Regions from separate parts of the Homo sapiens genome. Here regions 1 and 3 are each linked to region 2. The links are contacts of gene promoters, found by promoter capture Hi-C in blood cells and fetal thymus (Javierre and others, 2016). All regions are on one chromosome and are shown on one strand. Each heading gives the region's core, a stretch centred on a gene start or on the middle of the fragment in contact. The rest is flanking DNA. Distances are from core to core; before and after follow the strand shown.

The links. The method cuts DNA at HindIII sites, captures the fragments that hold promoters and counts their contacts. A CHiCAGO score of 5 or more calls a contact.
Region 1: a fragment that was not itself captured here is called in contact with the fragment with the promoter of CPN2 in region 2 in 1 of 17 cell types (M1 macrophages); the score reaches 5.5 in M1 macrophages.
Region 3: a fragment that was not itself captured here is called in contact with the fragment with the promoter of CPN2 in region 2 in 1 of 17 cell types (naive B cells); the score reaches 5.3 in naive B cells.

What each region holds. Positions count from the first base shown.
Region 1 is chr3:193,853,183-193,856,043 of GRCh38, reverse strand. No RefSeq gene overlaps it. Among named protein-coding and RNA genes, the nearest start is that of LINC02038, 11 kb to the right of the region's middle. The HindIII fragment of the contact is 3,377 bases long and covers 1-2,861 here.
Region 2 is chr3:194,349,736-194,352,604 of GRCh38, reverse strand. CPN2 (carboxypeptidase N subunit 2) reads left to right here and starts at 1,277. Exons shown (of 2, transcript NM_001080513.4): 1 at 1,277-1,363. RefSeq lists an enhancer at 952-1,801. The HindIII fragment of the contact is 6,903 bases long and covers 1-2,869 here.
Region 3 is chr3:193,932,348-193,935,493 of GRCh38, reverse strand. LOC105374287 (a long non-coding RNA gene) reads left to right here. Exons shown (of 2, transcript XR_007096293.1): 2 at 1-3,146. Among named protein-coding and RNA genes, the nearest start is that of LINC02026, 70 kb to the left of the region's middle. The HindIII fragment of the contact is 825 bases long and covers 1,347-2,171 here.

The DNA.
Region 1 (2,861 bases), core at 310-2,809, 500 kb after region 2:
TAAGGAGAATCAGTAGTTTCTTGCAAGGCACCTCTGGTCATTTGTTCTGGTCCAGGCTCGGTGAAAGGCCATTGCAGTTTCTTTAGGCAAGGTGAGCTCATTAGCTAGGAAGGGAGTGCTTCTACTACTGGCAAAAAAGGCTCAGCAAAATTCAAGTTCTAGCTCCCAGCTTCATCTGAATCTGCCCATATGTCTACCCCAATGCTCAGAACCACACTTCTTCCTAATCAATGTGCTAATTTTACCATAAGATACTCTGTGAGGTTGTGATTTCAGTTTGCATAATTCTTCCCAAAATTAGACCTTGGGTTTGATTTTCAGAAATATTTGCCCTATAGCCACAGGAACTAAAGATTTCCCTTAGTTAGTCTTTGTATTGGGAACTTAGTCATAATTTTTTTTTTCTCCAAGTTCTTCAGTAACCTAGAAGCTACCTATCAACATCTGTATCTTCCTTATTTTTGCTGAAATATTGTACAGAAGCAACTACTTGGTTATCCAAAGCCCTGCCTTCTATAGGCACTTAATTACAGGTATTTATAGGTGATAATGTAATTAACTCTTTTGTTACCACCAGGTCCCCTTTACTACTGGCATCAGAGTCATTAACGCTTTTAAATATAATCAGATCAGAGAGCCAACTCCAGAACCAATTCAGAGAACTCATCCTTTAGGTTTTCTTGCTCATGGTTTCATCAGGGAGGCAGAGTCACTCTTAGTGATATGAAATAATTTCCCATAGCAATTAGACTTCTCACAATAGTGGGAGAAGGATGCAGGAAGATAAGCTGGACCTGATACAGGAGAGATCAAGGGCAACCTGGAACCTTTCCCTGTCTTTCACCACAACTAACCCTATAGAAGAGGTATGTGCCCTTTACCATAGGGGTGCACACACACCTGAGCCAAAACTCAGCAGGAGCTGAGGGGAGCTGCAGAACTGGCCGCTGCTCCATGCTAAGGAGGTAAGCAAGTAGGTAAATGCTGGTGTCTGTTTGTGTTCATGAGCTGTGATGGCACCTGTAGCCCTGCACCAACCTTCAAGTGTTGTGATGGTTGGTCTGCTTTCCAAATCTCATGCCAATTTCTCTTATGGCCAACCATAACGAGGGCCATAGAAAGAAGGAAAAATCTGGGAAATGTCCTTTGGGCTTAGGTAGGCTGACTCAGTACGGAACCACCAGAGCCGTCACTGTTTGGTACTCTTACGTAAGGAACTCAAGATTTAACCTAAGAACCAGTACCTAGAGGGAGAGGGTAAGAGAGAGGGATGGATAGGATCCATGTAAAAATTGGGTTATGAATTCGCTTAAATTAAGACTGTATGTGAGATTGTACCCAAAAGATCAGGATCAAGAAAGCCAGAGGGGAGAGCCGGCTTTGCTCCAGAACATTTCTGTATTTGACAGTGATGATAGTAACCCACCATGGCATCACAGAGCTTTGTGGTTTGCAAAGTGCTCTCACATGCATCATTTCATTTGGAGTGGATTGACCTTCTGCTTCATTCACTAAATACTTATTGAGTATTTGTCCTATGCCAGGAACTGTGCTAGGCATTTTGCATATCCTGTCTCCAAATATATTAATATCTCCTTTATATTTCACTATATCTCTGTGACAGAGATATCACTGTCATTTTACAGATTTTAAAAGTATGGCTATAATGTTGGAGATACAAGACCCTAATGGGAATATAAGATAAATAGAACTTTGTCCTTGCTCTCAAGAACAGGGGTTGGTAAACTTTTTCTATAAAAGGACAAGTGACAAGTAGTTTAGGCTTTGTGGTTCCTATTACAACTACCCAACTCTGAAGCTGTAGAGAATGCAGTCATAGCCAATATAAAAATGAATGTGCATGGCTGTGTTCCAATAAAACTTTATTTACAAAAACAGGCAGTGGGATAGATTTTGCCCATGGGTAATAGTTTACCAACCCCTGAACTACAAGGGCATAGGCTAAAGGAGAGACTACTAATTAAAACAACTCATGATGAGACTATGTGGTAAAGGAGTCTATACGAAGGGCTGTGAAGGCAGAGGGTGTAGCTGGCTGGGGAATTTAGTGAGGCAGGGCAGCATTTCTAGAATCATGACCTCTGTGGTCCATATTTCCAGGTCACTGCCATCCATGAACCAGGAAATGGCTTGCAGACAAATGCAGGGTGGGATCTGGAGCTTATATCTTATCAGAACCTGTGTCTCCTTCCTGAGCTGTCTTCCTGTGAACTGGGCCTGTGGTGTGGGGGTTGAGGTTCACTGTCTGCTTTCCCCTCGTGTATCAGCCAGCCCTTATACTTCCTAAAACTCAGCGTCCCTTATCCTTATCCACAGCACAGAAGCTGTGGGCTTGGCCTGACACAGCCCTAGAATGATACTTCCTTGTATGCCAGCCTCAACTTCTTCTGACCTGCAGCTTGCAAACAACACATTCCTAGTATGTGGTTATTAGCCTACTCCTCCTAGAATGCCCTCTAGATCTGGTTCCTGCCTGAGGTATAAAATCATGCTTGTGGTTGAACTTACAGGTGGACTTTACAAGAAGGCTCAGGACAGGGAAGAACACTATAAAACAACAAAAACTGCCTCCAACTGGAAAGCAGTGTGTAGGGAGGGTTTGAGCAGTGACTAGATGACCATAGGAAGGAGAAGTTCTAATATTTAAAAAGTCCTTGGGCTTAGGAGTCTTTCTGTCCCACAGTCCTATTTAGCTTTGTGATAGCGGACAAATTTCTTGAGCTCTCTTGACTTAGTTTCATGATTTGAAAACAGAGAGTTCACATCTCTCATAGGGCTGTTGTGATAATTAAATGAGAATTCCATCCAGTTTCCAGCAGGCACTATCCTGGCACACAGTT
Region 2 (2,869 bases), core at 28-2,527:
TACACCCACTTACACACACTGCACACCTACACACACGCACTCACCACACACACCCCTACACCCATTCACACATATACCCACTCACACCCCCCACACCCACACGCACGCACTCACCAAACACTCCCCTACACCCACTTACATACCCATTCACACATACACCCACTTACACACGCACTCACCACACACACCGCTACACCCATTCACACATATACCCATTTACACACACACACCCCACACCCACACGCATGCACTCACCAAACACTCCCCTACACCCACTTACACACGCACTCACCACACACACCTTTACACCCACTCACACATACACCCACTTACACACACATCACACATGTGCTCTCACCACACACACTCCTACACTCACATACACACGCCCACTCACATATACACCCTCTTTACATACCACACCCCCACACACGCACTCACCACACACACCCCTACACCCACTCACACATACACCCACACACGCACCCACACACGCACTCACCACACACACACCCTACCCACGCGCGCACACACCCACTCACACATACACCCACTTACACACACAACACACCCCCACACATGCACTCACCACACACCCCCTACAGCCACTCACATTTACACCCACTTACATGCACACCCCCAGATGCACGCACTCAGCACACACACACTCCGTGTGTCTTGCAGCCCTGGTTCCACACCTCCGGAGATGGGAAAATCCCTCCCTTCCAAAGCAGCATCTTTCGTCCTCGGCCAGCCCTGAGTGTGTGAGCGCTCCTCTCCATATTGGGCCCCAATTCATCTCCCTATAGCTTTTCCCCCTTCTAATTCAGGAAGGGTTTAGAAAGTTCATTCATTAAACAAGCAAACAAACACAACAAGACAAAACAACAAATCCACAGCCCTCTTGAAATGCCTCCGGGCGCTGAGAGCCCAGCAGGGGCCTGAGGCTGAAGGCAGGCTCCCAGTCCCTCTGCCTCTGCTCACAGGTATGGGTGTGAGCGTGGACCCCATCCCAGGCCTCACCAACCCAGCCGCCTGCGGGAATCTCTAGAGCTTTCTGAGTGTCCTCGGGGTCCTGAAGGTGCCAACCCTGCAACCTCGGTGGGATTTTGGCCCCGGCAGGGCTCTGTACATGGGAGGAGTTCAGGGTCATTTTGTAATCTTCAGAGGCCTTGCCAAGGCCCTCTCCCGTCCTGTGACCCTGGTGACATTCTGGGACGCTGGGGCCACGTGAGGGGAGGAACCACTGCCTGGAACTTTGATCAGCGCTGGGGCTGGATTGAGCTGACCACAGGCCACACCAGACTCCTCTCTGCTCCTGAGGAAGACAGGGCAGCCCGGCGCCACCCGCTCGGCCCTCACGGTAGGCTCCCGGGGTCGCTGAAGGGCTCCAGGGTCTGCAGGGACGTGGGGGCAGGAACGGGAACTTGCGATCTCCCCCGTTTCAGAGCATTCCGCAGCTCCAGGCAGGCTGCGGTTCTGGGGGGCCCCTGCCCCGGGAGGAGAAGTCCCTGAGGTGCTCAGCTAGGGCGCTGCTGGGAAGAGGCAGGAGGAAGGTGGGGCGGGGGTTTGTGAGATGAAGATCTGCCAGTCCTGGCCTACAAGGCTGGTAGTGAGTAGAGGATAAGCAGGGTGACCAGATGTCCAGGTTGGCCTGGTTCTGCCTAGTTTATACTTGTCATCTTGGCATAATAATAATAAATAGTATTACTAATTACTTATTAATCCTATATTAATACTAAATATTATTAATTATTTATTAATATAATTATTGTTTTTTGAGATGGGGGTCTTGTTATGTTGCTCAGGCTGGTCTTGAACTCCTGGCTTCAAGCGATCCTCCCACTCAGCCTGCTGAGTAGCTGGGATTACAAGCGCATGCCACAGCACCCAGCTCAGGCCCAAGGATGACTAGCTCCTGGTTTCCTTCCCAGAAGCGTGCTGGCTCATATAATAAAGTTTGTGGTGAAATAAACCTGCAGGGGGCCACCTTTTATTGAACATTCAGTATGTGCCAGGCGCTGTGTTAAGGGCTTTCTATTTACTATCTTATTTAGCCTATTTATCATCCAATGGAGTGCTAATTTGAACTCTGAGGGCAGAGGTGATAATTAAGTCTGGAAAACCTGAGGCTTAGAGAGTTGGAGTGATTTGCACAAGCCCACACCGCTAGTAGGTGATGGCGTCAGAATCTGATCCCAGCTGGGGGCACTGGCGGAGCTAAAGTGCTTTCCCCTGCTACTAAGCAGGATGAGAGTAAGGCCTGAGATGCGAAGTCACTGAAAGCCACAAACACATTCCTTCAATTCAGCACACAGGGCCTGACTGCCTTCTCAGTGCCTGGCCCCGAGCCAGGTGCTGGGGTGCAGAGCTGCTTGCAGAGACACCACAGCAAGACTGCAGTACCACGGGCTCAGTCGGGTGGGTGCAACTGACTAGAAAACAGAGCGGAAGAGCCCAAACATTCAACACAGTACAAGAGGGATCCGAGGACCCAAGAAAGGGCCGAGCGCGGTGGCTCACGCCTGTAATCCCAGCACTTTGGGAGGCCGAGGCAGGCGGATCACCTGAGGTCAGGAGTTCGAGACCAGCCTGGCCAACACAGTGAAACCCCATCTCTACTAAAAATACAAAAATTAGCCAGATGTGGTGGCAGGCGCCTGTAATCCCAACTACTCGGGAGGCTGAGGCAGGAGAATCGCTTGAACCCGGGAGGCAGAGGTTGCAGTGAGCAGAGATGGCGTCACTGCACTCCAGCCTGGGAAACAAGAGTGAAACTCTGTCTCAAAAAAAAAAAAAAAAAAAAAAAAAAAAAAAAAAAAAAAAGAAGAGGGTAGTCAGGAAGGCTTCATGGGGGAAGTGTGACTTG
Region 3 (3,146 bases), core at 510-3,009, 420 kb after region 2:
CTGCAGATTCCACCACTCCCGCACTCCCAAGCTCCAATCTCTGCCTCCTCCACTAAACATGCTCACCGTCCTCTGCTTGTGCGCCCCCTCCTTGCACGGTGACCTGGTAACTGTCCACGGATGGAAAGCCAGATGGCATGCAGGGCTCACTTCATGGGCTTCCCTTCTTTCGAGGATCACACCTCTGCTGTCCATTATTCTATGCCTGAAAATAATTGCTTCAGATATTTTGTCCTGTTTAATCATTGCTTGTGGTGGAAGGCACATCCAATACCAGTTTACTCCATCATGGCCAAAAGTAGATTTTTACCCATAGGTACTTTTGTTAAACCGGCCATCCATACCAAGAACACATCTGTGCCATCTCTTTCATTTCTCATGTGCTTACAGAGGGCAGGAATCATATCTTGAATTTAGAAAAATCACTGGGCAATTCTTATAACACTTGTCTTCCAACTTCCTCAACAAACAAACAAAAACAAATGAACAAACAAACAAACAAACAAACAACAAACCGTATTTTCTAAAAACTCAAGCCAGTCCACTAGTTGTCCTTACTAGACCAGCATTTCCTATCTGTGTTCTGAGGAATGCTAGCTCCACAAGAGGATAAATGGCAGTCTGGGTCTACAGAGTTTCCTGATCAGATATTTTGGAAAATGTTATGTCTGATTTTTTCCTGCAGGAAAATCACACGCACATTAACATATGAAAAAGGCTGATATGTTCTGTTGAAAAATTTCATCCACTTAACGTTGCCCAAACTTAATCAGTGCAACTAAGTCTTGAGAGAATATTCTCTAATATTGGAAAGGTGTGCTCTTTCACATCATAAATTATCTGACTTATTTATTTTCCCCAAAGTTTTGAAAAAATACTATTCAGAGGGCAAAAAGAGAGTTTTGATGTTTGGCAAGTCAGTCAAAATTACAGATGCTGATATGATATTTAAGCTGATCATTTCTGATTGGTAGGGCCAACAATTGAACAGATGAGTTAAATACCTCAGAATCTATGTGTCTAGTTTCCACATCCCAATTGTGCAAACAAAATGTGATGGGAAAATGGACTTTTTCTTTTAAAGCTCTGATCAGCATATTTATGTTTTAAAGGCCTAGAAATCTGGAAATATAATGCTAGCCCATAAAATCTTACCTTCAAAAGTATTTCATATATACTCTATTTTTAAGATAATAACCCACCTCTATAAATTTTATTAATCATTTATGAACCCCCTAAAATACTTTTGGAAACATTTTCCAGCTCAAACACCTTTTTAAAACACCTTTTTAAATGACATCATGTCTCTTGGTGTATATTGTTCTATAATGGAGATCAGGAAAGCTTCCCCACCCCTCCAGAAAGTGACTGCTGAGAAGTTTGTCATCATCCTCCCTAAATGTAAGCACCTGGAAAATCTGAGTGCTATGAAACCCCAAAACATAGCTCTGAGGCAGACAGCTAGATTTAAAAACCTCTCCCTTGGAGAATCGCCTCAGGAATAGCAGAAGCATAGTCCACAATCCTGGGGAACTTCAGGGATCCCTGAAGGCTGAGCCACAGTGAGAGGCTTTGAGCTGTACTCTAGAACGTCTCCCAGGAGGAAAGACTCTCCATGAGTTTCTCTACTGAGCACGCTGTCTGCTTCCCTTCACCTCCCTGCTGCTGTCGGCTAGCTCCACATTCTGACCTACAGGCAGAGGCAAAGTGGATGCACACTTATTCATTCATCCAATCCATTCAGCTATTCATTAGTTAATTCAAAACTGAATTATTAAGTGCCACTTAGGAACCAGGCACTATACCAGAGTTGCTAGGATGCAGTGGTGGACAAAACTCAATCCCTGCCCTCATGGAGTTTACAGTCTAGGGAGCAAGGAGAATGACCAGCCAACCAAGGCACATGGTAAGAAGTGCTACAGGGAGGAATGAGTCACATTAAGAGGTTGGAGAGTGGCTGGAGAGTTACATAGGATGATCAGAAGGGTTTTCTCTGAGGAGGTGACATTTGTGCAGTAGTATGAATGAGAGGCTGAGTCAAAGAAACATTGAGGGGAAGAGCTTTCCCAGCAGAGGGAACAGTAAGTAAAAAAACCCTGAGGCTGGAGTTTTTGGTTGAATCCAATGGCTCCTAAGCACTAACTAGTTGCATTTGACTCACCAAAGAAGCTTAAAAACAAATACTATTCCTGGTATCCACAGTCTCAGAGCCCAATTCAGTAAACTAGAAGTGGGGCCTGAGAACCTAGATTTTTAAAAAGCCTTCCCAGAATATTCTGATGCTTAGCTCAGTTTAGGAAACTCTAATCTAGTCCAACGACCTCATATCACAGAGGAAGAAATTGAGGTCCAGAGAGAGGAGGACGTGATTTAGCTTCTGGTCACAGAGTTACATAATCATAGAGCCAGGCCTAGAAACCATATTCCCACATTCCCAGTCCTCCCTGCTCTCCTATCCCCTCCTCTCCCCTCTTCTCCTCCTGCAACAGAAGAGGCCACTAGAAATGTTTTTCTTCTAATAATATTTGTTGTTGTCATTATTAATATAAATAATAACTACCATTCATTGAAGATTTATCCCAGGCACAGTTCTAAGCACTCTTCGTATATTAACTTATTAAATCCTCACAATAACCTTATAAGAGTGGCATGCTTATGATTCTCACTTTGCAGTTGAGGAAGCTGGTGGAGAGGTTGAGCAACTTGCACCAGTCACACAGCTGGCAAACGATGGAGCCAGGCCACCTTCCTGCAGAGTTTATGAGGCTGGACTCCCCTTTGGGGCTGCCTCGTGCAGACCAGGGCAAGATTATTACTGCTGTTATTGATTCTCATCAACAGGAGCTTCAGTTTCTCATCCTGTGCACATTGACAGGGACACCGGCCATATCATGATGCAGACAGCTGGGAGTGCACCTCAAGGCCATGGTACAAGTTCAGGCAGTGGATTCTGTCCCTTTGGAGAGCAACTGTGGTCTGAACATTACTTATTTATCTTTTAGAAACTTCAGGTGATTGAAGTTTCCTTTTGGTGATTTTTTGAAGTCAGGCTCTGCTGAGAATGCAGAGGGAGAAGCTGGTGTGCTTGCTGCATGTTTATAGCCAAGCTTGGCACATCATCTGAGTCATAGCTGCATCCAAGTAAC